2 separate regions of the Homo sapiens genome follow, and region 1 is linked to region 2. Evidence: promoter capture Hi-C in 16 types of primary human blood cells and fetal thymus (Javierre and others, 2016). All regions are on one chromosome and are shown on one strand. Each heading gives the region's core, a stretch centred on a gene start or on the middle of the fragment in contact. The rest is flanking DNA. Distances are from core to core; before and after follow the strand shown. Region 1 holds the start of RANBP6 (RAN binding protein 6). Region 2 holds the start of PUM3 (pumilio RNA binding family member 3).

The links. Contacts are between HindIII fragments. The CHiCAGO score rates a contact against its expected background, and 5 or more counts as called.
Region 1: a fragment that was not itself captured here is called in contact with the fragment with the promoter of PUM3 in region 2 in 1 of 17 cell types (non-activated CD4 T cells); the score reaches 5.4 in non-activated CD4 T cells.

The regions. Positions count from the first base shown.
Region 1 is chr9:6,013,079-6,019,181 of GRCh38, forward strand. RANBP6 (RAN binding protein 6) reads right to left here and starts at 2,546. Exons shown (of 1, transcript NM_012416.4): 1 at 1-2,546. The coding sequence starts at 2,529. RefSeq lists an enhancer at 2,365-2,424. The HindIII fragment of the contact is 2,610 bases long and covers 851-3,460 here.
Region 2 is chr9:2,842,128-2,848,437 of GRCh38, forward strand. It overlaps PUM3 (pumilio RNA binding family member 3), which reads right to left and starts at 1,968. Exons shown (of 18, transcript NM_014878.5): 1 at 1,918-1,968. RefSeq lists enhancers at 997-1,558, 1,942-2,236, 2,060-2,299. The HindIII fragment of the contact is 3,665 bases long and covers 237-3,901 here.

The DNA.
Region 1 (6,103 bases), core at 906-3,405, 3.2 Mb after region 2:
ATCACATTCATCCTCATCTTGCAGAGACATCTCAACCTGTTGATCATAGTTTTCTTCCTGTCTTTTCACCTGTCTCAATTCTTGGTTTTTAAAGTGCCCTTCAAGTTTTGCTTTCAGTATTCCTCCCAGTTCTTCCAAGTGTTCATCATTAAGGCAACCATCTCCCATAACTTCAATGGACTTTGCAAAAGAATTCATTATTTCTGAGAGCACATCTGTATCTGGTTCAGTACCAATAGCCTTGATTAAGGGGTCACATATGAATTGCCACATCTGTGCAAGATACTCTGGGCCACGAATTCTTGCACATTCCAGGAGAAAAGGCATGGACTCTGCTGCTGCCACTCGAACATTGTCATGGAAATAAAATTTCAGTAAAGGAACCATCAGCTTCACAACTTGTTCTGTATATTCCACAAACCCTTCCCTTAACTCCTTAGCATAGTAAACCAACATTTGGCAAGCAGTTGCTTTTGCTTCAAGTCCTGAAGTTTTAATTCCAAAACTCTGCTGGTCTCCAAGATTTACAAATTGCCAGCCATCATCGTCACTCATATTTTCCACATCCTGTGTGTCTAAGAGAGCAACATCAGGTTTAGCTGAAGCAGTCTTAATAAGAGGCTCGATAACCAGTGGAAGGTACTGTTGAAAATCTTTTCCAAGAATTTTACACATTCTAGCCCATGCTGAAACCATGTAAGAGGTCTGAGGGTCATCATCTTCCATATTATTTAAGTCTGATTGTGTCTTCAACAACAGCTGCATCACATTTGATGCATCTTGCATAAATTTTTCCTTCCCAACAGCAAGACCAATATGGCTAATGCACTCGATAGTTTTTCCTCTCAGAAGCTTGAGTTCCTTCTGAACAGCAAGCTCAACAATGTGCTTTAGTGAGGGCATGAATATATCATAATATGGGACAAATTTTTCTTCTATTGTATCTGCAACTGATGCAATGGTTGTCACAAGTTGTTCCAAAGCCAACTTAGTTCCATTCCGAATCAACTCTTGAAGTTTAATCACCAAGACGGAATGTAGATTTTTCACCATACTATCCACATATAGAACTAGCAATGATTTAGGGCAGTCTTCAATAAAAATAATAAGAGCAGAAGCTGCATGTGATTGCACACGCTGATTACCTTGATTTTCCATGGTACGTAACAGAGCTGCAATCACTGTTTCATGAAATTTCTTTTGGAAATTAGGTGCAAAATCTGTAGCCATCTGTCCAAGTGTAGTACAGGCTGCAGCCCTCACCCTTGGATGAGGATCCTGAAGAAAAAGCAAAACGGAGTTAACTGTTTCATCTAGAATTGATTCCATTTGTTGATGGCATCCTTCTCCAATGGCAGATAAGGCCATTAATCCAGCATGTCGATACTTCCAGTCAGGGCTCTGAAGCATCTGCATGATATGCTCCTTGGTCATTGGTAAAACAACTTTTCCACCAAGCCCACAAGCCAGTCTGTCTAGTGCACTCTCCGCAGCAACTGCATTGCTGTCAAAATCATCTTCTTCCATTTCATCAGCATTTACCCAGTCCTCATCATCTTGTAGATCAACCATCATTGCTAATATATGAGGAACTGCCTGTGCAATAATATTTGTATGTTTTTTCAACATCGGAGTGGCAGTTTCAGACAAGGTCACTATAACTTCGAGGGCCAGCTGGCGCTGCAGATTACTAAGCCTAGAGTCTCCACATAACTTCAAACTCAACTGTAGAGTATCTTCTAAATAAGGACCCAAGTACTTAGGTACGGTATCTGCAATCTCAACAAGGGATTCTAGCACTGAATCATCATCCTGGTAGCATGAGTCATTCACAGCCTGTAAGATTCCAGGAAGCAAGTCTGCAAAGTCTTTGAAAAGAGCAATATTATTCTCATTAGCAAGTACAAATGCAGCTGCAGCTCTAGCGGATAATGTCCTGATTGCTGGATGTTCTTGATCTTGAATACACTGGTCCAACAACCGTTTGATGATATCCAAATCATGCCGCTCTTGGGTCCCAAAAATCCCAGGAAAGTGCCAGAAAACGTGAAGTGCAACTTCCCATAGAACCACATTTTTGGAGTAGATTGAATCAATAAGAAACTTCAGACCTTCCGGCCAGTGGTTAGTGCCATCCTCATCTATCAAATTCCTGGCCAGCACTGCAAAAATATCACAAAGTTTTTTCCTCATGCTAGCATGTGTTTCTAACTTAACAGCCAGAATCAGTTCAATCTTGACATCTCTCTGAACATCAGCAGGCAGATTTGGATAAACCTCCTCAAACCCAGAGGACAAAAGCCGTCGTAGCAGTGCGGCAGCCATTTGTCTCACCTCATAACCTGCTCTTCTATTTCTGACGGCATCTAAGAGGAAGGTAGTCTTACACAGACCTGGGATATTTTCATAGATTTCCTCTGCTTGCCTCCGCACCATACAGCTTGGATTGATCAGGTTCTTCAGAAGCTGGTAAAACTCTTGCTTTTCTGACACGGTCGCCGGCACCCCTGCAGACGCGGTTGCCGCCATTGCGCTCTGTCAAAGCTACCGCGACCGGGAAGGAGGGAGGGGGTCTGCGGCTCGAAGCAGTGACGTAGGCGAGGCGCCGGCGGGGATGGGCGGGGTGCTTCTCCCTCCTCTGCCCAGAAACTCTAGCTGCGCTCTGGCAGGCTGCGAGCTAGGTTTTGGAGAGAGGTGAGAGCCGTGTGGAGGCCAATGGCATCCTCCATTTGTTTTTCAATAAGATAAACGTGCACTTGCAGGCGAGAGAAGAAAAGCATTGATTAGAATGGGATCATGACTTTTTTTTTTTTTGGATACAAGGTCTGGCTGTGTCACCTAGGCTGGAGTATAGCGGCGCGATCCCTGCTCACTGCAGCCTCAACCTCCTGGGCTCAAGCGATCCTCCCCGCCTCAGTTCCCCCAGTAGCTGGGACCACAGGCGCGCGCCACCACGCCCGGCTAATTGTGTTTTTTATAGAGACAGGGTTTCGCCATGTTGCCCAGGCTGGTCTCGAACTCCTGGGCTCAGGTGATCTGCCCGCCTCGGCCTCCCGAAGTACTGGGAATACAGGTGTGAGCCACTGCTTCTGGTCAGATTATGAGTGATTTTTTTCTTTTATTTCTAAACTATATTGTTACTTTGATAATTTTAAAACAATAAGTCTATCTTGAAAACATGCCAAGTGAAAGAAACCAGTCACAACCACATATTGTATGATTCCATTTGTATGAAAGGTACCAAACAGGCAAATTGTATAACAGAAATTAGTGGTTGCCAGAGGTTGGGGGGAGGGGAGGATAGAGAATGACTGCTATCAAATAGGGTGTTTCTTTCTGAGTGATGAAATGTTCTAAAATTAATTGTGATGGTTGCACAATTCTGTGATTATACTAAAAACCATTGAGTTGTTAAATTTAAATTGGTGAATTGTATGGCATATAAATAATACTACAATAAAGCTTTATAAAATAATAAGTGTGATAATAAAATAATAATTACTTCCCCACTACCACATCTAATGCAGTAGAGTGGTAGCTCAAAATCTGGTGTGTGTCAGAATCACCTGGCCTGTTGGTTATAATAAAGAATGGGAAAGACAACTGAGTAAAGTATGGTAGAAAGTGATCTGAACTAATAATCAGAAGACAGACTTGCATCCTGGCCTTGTCACTAAATTAATTTTGTATCCTAGGACAAGTTACTCAAGATTTTCCTTGCATCTTGTCTAAACTGAAATATGAAGGGATGCGGTTAACTAGAATCCTAACTAACCATTAGTGGGAAGCTGCTGAGGTTATTCCAAGAAACAAATGTTGATGAAACTAAATTTGTTTCTTTTTTTTTTTTTTTTTTTTGTGAGATGGAGTCTCGCTCTGTCGCCAGGCTGGAGTGCAGTGGTGCGATCTCAACTCACTGCAACCTCTGCCTCCTGGGTTCAAGCAATTCTCCTGCTTCAGCCTCCTGAGTAGCTGGGACTATGGGCGCATGCCACCACGCCCAGCTAATTTTTGTATTTTAGTAGAGACGGGGTTTCACTATGTTTGGTCAGGATGGTCTCGATCTGTTGACCTCGTGAGAGATCACCCGCCTCGGCCTCCCACAGTACTAGGATTACAGGTGTAAGCAACCGCGCCTGGCCAGTTTGTTTCTTTAATTCAGGCAGGTGTGTCAATCAAAAACAAGTTTCATTCCTATAACAATGATTAGGTCTTACTTTTGTATTAGCACTTGCCACACTCATTTTGACCCTTATACAGAATTGAGAGATTGCTAGGATAGATATAATACTAAATTTAGGTGAGAAGTGGAAACTAAGGGAAGTTACAGGATTTGCCTAGGATGACACACCTGAGTCTCAATTCTACCTCTTCTGAAAGTGACACTGATGCTCTTTTCACCATATTGCTTCCCCATTAACTACTCTTGGTTTTGCAGCATGATCAGAGGCTTCACTTACTGCAAATTCTGTCTTAAACTTTTCCAAGCAGCCTTAATTTTGTTTTTGTAAAGTGCTGCCGCATATACCCACAAAAATTAGAAAGTCGTAGCTTTTACATTAACCAGATGATAGACAAAGTAGGTAGTCTCATAAATTACATTGTAGCCGAGCATGGTGGCTCACACCTGTAATCCCAGCACTTTGGGAGGCTGAGGCAGGCAGATCACGAGATCAAGAGATCAAAACCATTCTGGCCAACACGGTGAAACCCCGTCTCTACTAAAAGTACCAAAATTAGCTGGGCGTGGTGGCACATGCTTGTAGTCCCAGCTACTCGGGAGGCTGAGGCAGGAGAATCGCTTGAACCTGGGAGGCAGAGGTTGCAGTGAGCCGAGATTGCATCACTGCACTCCAGCCTGGCGACACAGCAAGACTCTGTCTCATAAAAAAGACACTGTAATATGAAACAGAGCTATTTTCTAAAATAGAATTTCTCATTCTGTAGACTGAAAACCAACTGCATTAGAATTGCTTGGGATACCTATTTTAAAATATAGATGTTAGGGCCCAAGTTCCTATTAACCCAGAATTCTGGGGGGACTGAGGACTAAGAATGTACAATTTCAACCAGCACATTGGGTTTTTATATAAATACCAACATTTGAGAATCGCTGATAAGATCAATTCTGGTTCTAAGATTATGACTACAGTTGTGCATTCATTGGTTTTCTTTCTTTCTTTGTTTTTTTTTTTTTTTTAGATGGAGTCTCGCTCTGTCACCTAGGCTGGAGGGCAATGGCACGATCTCAGCTCACTGCAACCTCTGCCTCCTGGGTTCAAGCAATTCTCCTGCCTCAGCCTCCTGAGTAGCTGGGATTACAGGCATGCACCACCACACCCAGCTAATTTTTATATTTTTAGTAGACACAGGGTTTCATCATGTTGGCCAGGCCGGTCTCAAACTTCTGACCTCAAGTGATCCACCTGCCTCAGCCTCCTAAAGTACTAGGATTACAGGCATGAGCCACCACACCTGGCCCATTCATTGGTTTTCTTACTGTTCCTTCAAAAAGTCTAACTGGAGGGACTTTGCATTTGCCGTTTCAGGAAATGTTAATAATAATTAATTAATTACTTAATACTATATCCACTAGCATATGAAAGACATTGAAAAAAACCACAGTGATACACCACCACAGACCTACCACAATGCTTTAAAAGTCTGACAAAGCCAAGGGTTGCTGAGGATGTGGAACAACAGGAAACTCAGTTATATTTTTGTTGAGAGTATAGGTAAATTGGTACAACCTCTTTGAAAAAAATGAGCTGGGCGCAGTGGCTCATGCCTGTAATTCCAGCACTTTGGGAGGCTATTGGGAGGCTAAGTTGGGCAGATCACCTGAGGTCAGGAGTTCGAGACCAGCCTGGCCAACATGGTGAAACCTCGTCTCTACTAAAAATACAAAAAATTTAGCTGGACTTGGTGGTGTGCGCATGTAGTCCCAGCTACTCAGGGAGGCTGAGGCAGGAAAATTGCTTGAACCCAGGAGGCGGAGGTTGCAGTAAGCCAAGATCACACCACTGCACTCCAGCCTGGGTGACAGAGGGAGACTCCATCTCAAAAAAAAAAAAAAAAGAAAAAAGAAAAAGAAAAAAATGTT
Region 2 (6,310 bases), core at 718-3,217:
AAATGCAATTTGCTTTGCTTGGGAACCCTGTACCTTCGTAATGAATCATCACATTCAATAGTGTCTCTTGGAATTCGCCCCCCTTTTTCCTTTCCCTCTATTACCCCATTCAGGCTCCTGTTACCTCTTGCTCAGTTTTGTTTAGATCCTATCTGCTTTGATCCACTTTCCGCTGCCTGATTAACCTTCCAGTAGCACACCTATTTCATGTCATTTCCATGCTCCAATAGCTTCAAAGCTTTCCCACTGCCTTCAGGAAAAAGTTCCAACTCAGGCATTCACAGCCATTCAAAATGTGGTCTTAATTCACCCCACTCATCACCACCACACAGGAGCCACTATTCTTATCAGAATAGTGAAGTTTAAAGCCATTCTCTCTACCAACACAATTTCTACCCATCCTTCAAATTCAGTTTAAATGACATTTTCTTATAGACCAACCTCTACATGTTAGCATTCCTCAAATCTTTGCCCTAGGGAACTTCCCTTCTCTCTCCACACTTCTCCCTAGGTGGTCTCATCCAATCTCCTGGCTTTTTATGCTGAGTACTCCCAAATCATGTCTCCATTATGAACTTCTCCTTGGGGTCCAAACTTGTGTATAACTGCTTATCTGATACCTCTAATTATGTGTCTAACAGGAACCTTACCCTTAATATGTCCAAAACATAATTCTCTATGTTGTTCTTTATGTTATTGTTGTTTGCCCCACAAACAACAATATACTATTTTTCCCTGCCCTATCGTCCTCCATCTCAGCCAATGGCACATCATCTACTTTACTGCTCAAGTAAGAAATCTGAGTTACCCTTGACATTTTCCTCTCTACTCTGCCACGCTGAACCATAAGTTAGTTCTCTTAAATGTCCCTTACGTCACCACCCTAATGCAAACTATTACCAATACAATCTCTTGAGCTTCCAAATGTAATACATTTTCTAAAGAGAACCAGGGCCTATTCATGATTCTCACTTGCTTACAAGTCTTCAATGTTTTCTACACATGGTAATAGGAACGGAAATGTTTTCCTATTGTACAGAAAAAAAAATTCCCCATCATGACCTTCAAGGCCCTACAGAACCTAGTTCCACTCTATCCGGCTAACTTTATCTTGTACTCTAACTATACTCCTTCCTAGCTCCCATCTCAGGAACTTAGCCCATTATCGCCTCTGCTTGAAGTACTCCCTGAGCTTCCAAATCTCCGTTTAAAGATCACTTCTTCAGACTCCACTATCTGCCAACTCAGCATCCAGTTCGTTTCCTCCCAGCACTTAGAATCTGCGTACATTCAGGCAAACCGCCTAGCACTGGAGTTGGGGTTTGTGAAGTAGCACAGACAGGCTGATCAGGCCGAGCACGGGCTGGGATTCCGGAGTGAAGCTAGTCCACTCTAACCCGGCACGCAGGGCAACGTGGTGGGAGAGAGGTCGGAGTCCCGCCCTTCTTTTTTTTTTTTTTTTTTTTTTTGAGACGGAGTCTTGCTCTGTCTCCCAGGCTGGAGTGTAGTGGCACGATCTTGGCTCACTGCAAGCTCCGCCTCCCGGGTTCACGCCATTCTCCTGCCTCAGCCTCCCAAGTAGCTGGGACCACAGGCGCCCGCCACCATGCCCGGCTAATTTTTTGTAGTTTTAGTAGAGACGGGGTTTCACCGTGTTAGCCAGGATGGTCTCGATCTCCTGACCTTGTGATCCGCCCGCCTCGGCCTCCCAAAGTGCTGGGATTACAGGCGTGAGCCACCGCGCCCGGCCAGTCCCGCCCTTCTTGCCAGGCTCCAGTCAGTCCCAAACTCCTAGCCCAGAAAGAGGCCAGAGGAGACTGCCCAGTGGACAACAGCCCCGAGAGACCTTCCCGACTTCCAGCGCCCGGCAGGGTGCGAACCCCTCCCAAGAGCGACCGCTGAGCCTGCCACACTCACCGCACACGTGGGACCGAGACAGCTCGCGCAGCGGATCCCGACCGCCTCTCCGCTTCCGCTTCCTTGCCTTGCTCCGCCCCCGGGCCGCTTTTTTTCATCTTCCGCGGCGGATCAGGGACTAAGAGGTGGAGCTTCCCAGAGAATACAAAAATTCGGAATTTCTATTGGTCCGCTGCTGTTATGCCTCCTCTTGAGGCGCGAGGATTTTGGCCCTTGCAAGAATCCGTCGGGCGGAGGACGCGACAACGGCCACGGGAAATGACGTCATTAACCCTGTGGCTTCCGTGCTGGAAAGAGAGGGAGAGCTCTTGCGAGGCAGAACAGGCTGCTGAAGGACAGACCTGGCTGGCGCGGTTAATAAGAGGCCTGCATCCCGTAGCCTGAACAAATATTGAAGTAGCTAAAGTTTCTAAAGTGTGTTAATTTGCATACTTCCTCAGCAGTCCAGCGTGGAGGATAAAAGGGGTATCTTGTGAGTCGATTTGAATTGTAATCCCGTTTTTTTCACTTGCTAGCTGTGTGGCTCTGGGAAAATTACAGTTTTTATGAGCTTTGGCTTCCTGATCAATAAAATAGAAATAATTAAGTGATACGTGCAAAGCGCTTAGCATGGAACGCTCTCAATAAATGTTTGCCATTTTTAGTGTCTGCTCGTGCCTGGAAACTGCTGTTATTCCATTTTATACTTCAGGAAATAAGATTGTGGTTAGGATATATGCCCCATTTTCCAGATGAAGAAACTGACACCACAAACTTGCTCGTGTCAAGCAACAGAATTTTATTCTTTAACTGTTCTAGAGGCAAGAATTCCAAAATCAAGCTGTTGGCAGAGCCCTGCACCTTTTGAAGGCTCTAGGGGAGAATGCTTTGCTTCTTCAGCTTCTAACGGTTCCAGGCGGTCCGTGGCCTCTTGTTGCATGACTCCAATCTCGGCCTGTCTTCTAATGGCCTTCTCCTGTGCCTGTGCCACTTCTCTGTGTGTTTTTAGGACACTGAACATTGAATTTAGAGTCCACGGGGATAATCCAAGATCATCTCATCTGGAGGTCCTTAATCACATCTGCAAAGGCCCTTTTCCCAAATAAGGTCACTTTCACATGTCCTGGGAGTTAGGACATAGACATATCTTTTGGAGACTATTCAACCCACTGCATCTGTAAAGTTGAGGAACTGGCACTTGATCCCTGGTGCCAGACTTCAGATTTTACTGTCTTCCAACTTACTCCGTTTTCTGGCCACTAAGGAGTTAGAGTTGAAACTGGTAATTTAGTAGACTGTATGCTTCTTGATGACAGGGGCCATCATTACTTTCCAGGCACTTATCTCACTATGCAGCACATAGATACTTGATAAGTTCTTGTCGTCTACCTTAACTGTTACTAGTTTACATTTCAGCTCATTTAAATCTCATAAGAACGTTTTAAATAGGTCTTTTCTCATTTTACAGAGAAAGGCAAAACATAGTAGCTTTGGTCCAGTGAGCCTGACTCTAAACTCAACGTGGCTGCCTCCGTACTGCTTTCAATAATTCAGTAAATGCTAAGAGAAGAGAATATGGAACAGGAATTGCAGGAGGCCCATCAGCTGTGCCTTTTGGGCAAATAGCATAGTAGTGGGGATATTAGACACCTTGAAACACCTGACAAGTAAATGCTGGCCAAAAAGAAAGAAAAATCGCAAAATACACCCTATCACACAACCCTGGGAAGGGATACGTTTGTGTTTTCAACTCGACAGACAGCAGCACCCCATATCCTTGAAGATAGGTCCATGCAGTTGCCTTAAGCATCTGCACCAAAACCCTGCTATTCATTTGCCTTTTCACCAGGGAGGAAAAAAAAAATGTTATCACATATCAAAGCCCTTGATTATTATTAAAAACTTTTTTATCAAGTCTTCTGTGAAAGTGGATTGATTTGGATTTTTTTTTTTTTTTTGGAGTGAATTGAAAGCATCGTGTGGTTTTGCAGAACAGCACAAAAAAAGCTTATCCTGTAATTTTTTTTTTTGTCAAGCAAACCCATTAATTCTTCAAATATCTAATGATCTAAATGTAGACCACTAGGTGTACTCCTACAAGCCTAAGATGCTCTTCTTGCGTGATACACAATTTAATCAGAGCAACTAGACTTGCACACATCCAAGAGGTTAATAACAGTACTATAGCAATGCAATGACGAGCATTGAGATTAGAATCAAAGGAACCTGGCTTACAATCTAAATTCTGTATGGCCAAGGACAAGATAGCCAACTTGTATGGGCCTCAGTTTCTGCATATGTAAAATGGGAATAACAACACTTGTTTCTGGAGTTGCTGTGAGGCTTAAAAGTGATAATATCTTAAAGTTCTTAGCCAGTAGTAAATGTTGAGTGATTTGTAGCTTAAGAGAGAACCAAGGTGTACCCATTTGAAATACTTTGGGGCCGGGCGCTGTGGCTCACACCTGTAATCCCAGCAGTTTGGGAGGCCAAGGCAGGTGGATCACCTGAGGCCAGGAATTCGAGGCCAGCCTGGCTAACATGGCCAAACCCCATCTCTACAAAAATACAAAAATTAGCCAGGTGTGGTGGTGCATGCCTGTACTCCCTGCTACTCTGGAGGCTGAAGCATGGAGAATCGCTTGAACTGGAGAGGCGGAGGTGCAGTGAGTGGAGATTGTGCCACTGTACTCCAGCCTGGGCAACAGAGTGAGACTCTGCCTCAAAAAAAAAAAAGAAAAAAAGAAATACGTTTGACTTCACATAACGGAAAGTTCAGCTAATGGTGGCTTAAGCAATCATTTTCTTAACATAAAAATTTGGAAGGTACTTGGTTGTTGTGGTTCAATGACACAACAATGTCATCAAAGACCCACGCTCTTCCAGTCTCTGTTCTACCACCATCCTCAACGTTGACTTTTTATTGTCCCATTTACTGCTTTTTGATTGCAAGATGAACTCCTCAGTTTCCATATTTATCTAAGAGTTCAGGGCTAGTGAAAGTGCAGAAAGAAATGAAATCCACTATTTCCTCCCAGTGGGGCTCCGTCCTTTTATCCCAGAAGGAAAAGACCCAACAGGAGTCTCCCTTCTATTTCAGTGCCAAGAACTGGATTACACGGCCACCCCAGAATTGAAAGACCATCAGATACAATGTTAACCAGGCATTTGGATTTCATTCTTTTTCTAGTACTCTGGTAAAATTAAAGATCACTTAGCAAATATGCTTTTATCCAGCAGTAGAGATTTAATTTGTGACTTAAGCTAATCTGGTTTAAAACTTAAAATAACTATAGTATCCCAGGTGGTGGATAGCAATCTGGGCAGCGCATTGAATCACCTGTGGAGTTTTTGTTTTTGTTTCTTTAAGTAGCAGTAGTTCTGATTTAATTGGTCTGGAATGGGACCTGAGCATTGAGAATTTGATGCCTAGATCATGCTAACATGCAGCTAAGGTTAAGACCCAGTTATTTAAGGAATGGGGTTCAAGTTTTGTTTGTCTGTTTGAGACAGAGTCTTGTTCTGTCACCCAGGCTGGAGTGCAGCGGTACGATCTCAGCTTACTGCAACCTCTGCCTCCCGGGTTCAGGCAGTTCTCCTGCCTCAGCCTCCCAAGTAGCTGGGACTACAGGCGTGCGCCACCAGGCCCGGCTAATTTTTGTATTTTTAGTAGAGACGGTGTTGGCCAGGATGGTCTTGGACTCCTGACCTCAGGTGATCCACCTGCCTTGGCCTCCCAAAGTGCTGGGATTACAGGTGTGAGCCACTGCCCCGGGCCTGTTGATTTGATATTTTAGTTAACTAGGGGTTAAATCTCCTGGTTCCTCTTTGTATTGCAGGCACCAGAATTTAAGAATTAAATATACAATATGCTTCTCTCTGTAAGTAGAACATTGGAGAGAATTGTATCTTTCTTGCTGACTGAGTTCTCCTAAAGTGATTTAATACCATTAGATGTTAAAAAATGGTTTAAATTTGAACTATACACTTTCAAACATACTCTGGAAAATGTTTGCTTCTTTTTTCAATTTCACATAATTTTGTGTAATTTTCTTTTTTCCATAAAAATAAAATAGGTTAGGTGTCAGCTCCCATACATCTTCCCCTTCCCAAAATCAGTTCTCTGGAGTTCTAATTAGTGGATTTTTAACGAATTACGTTGTTTTTCTGTTTCTCAAATGCATAAGCAGAGATAGAGGGCATGTTACTGATATAAAGCATAAGTGATATTTTGGCAAGGATTGGGCTTTATTTTCAGGACCTATTAGAATCATAAATCCATGGAAACGGAGCAGTTGCCAACACATTTTTATTTAGTGAAAAAGAACTGCTTCTGAATAGTGTGCATTATGTTTTCCAATATCGTACATTTGCTACAAAGTGCACTAATGTAGTCTAAACATTAATTGAACAT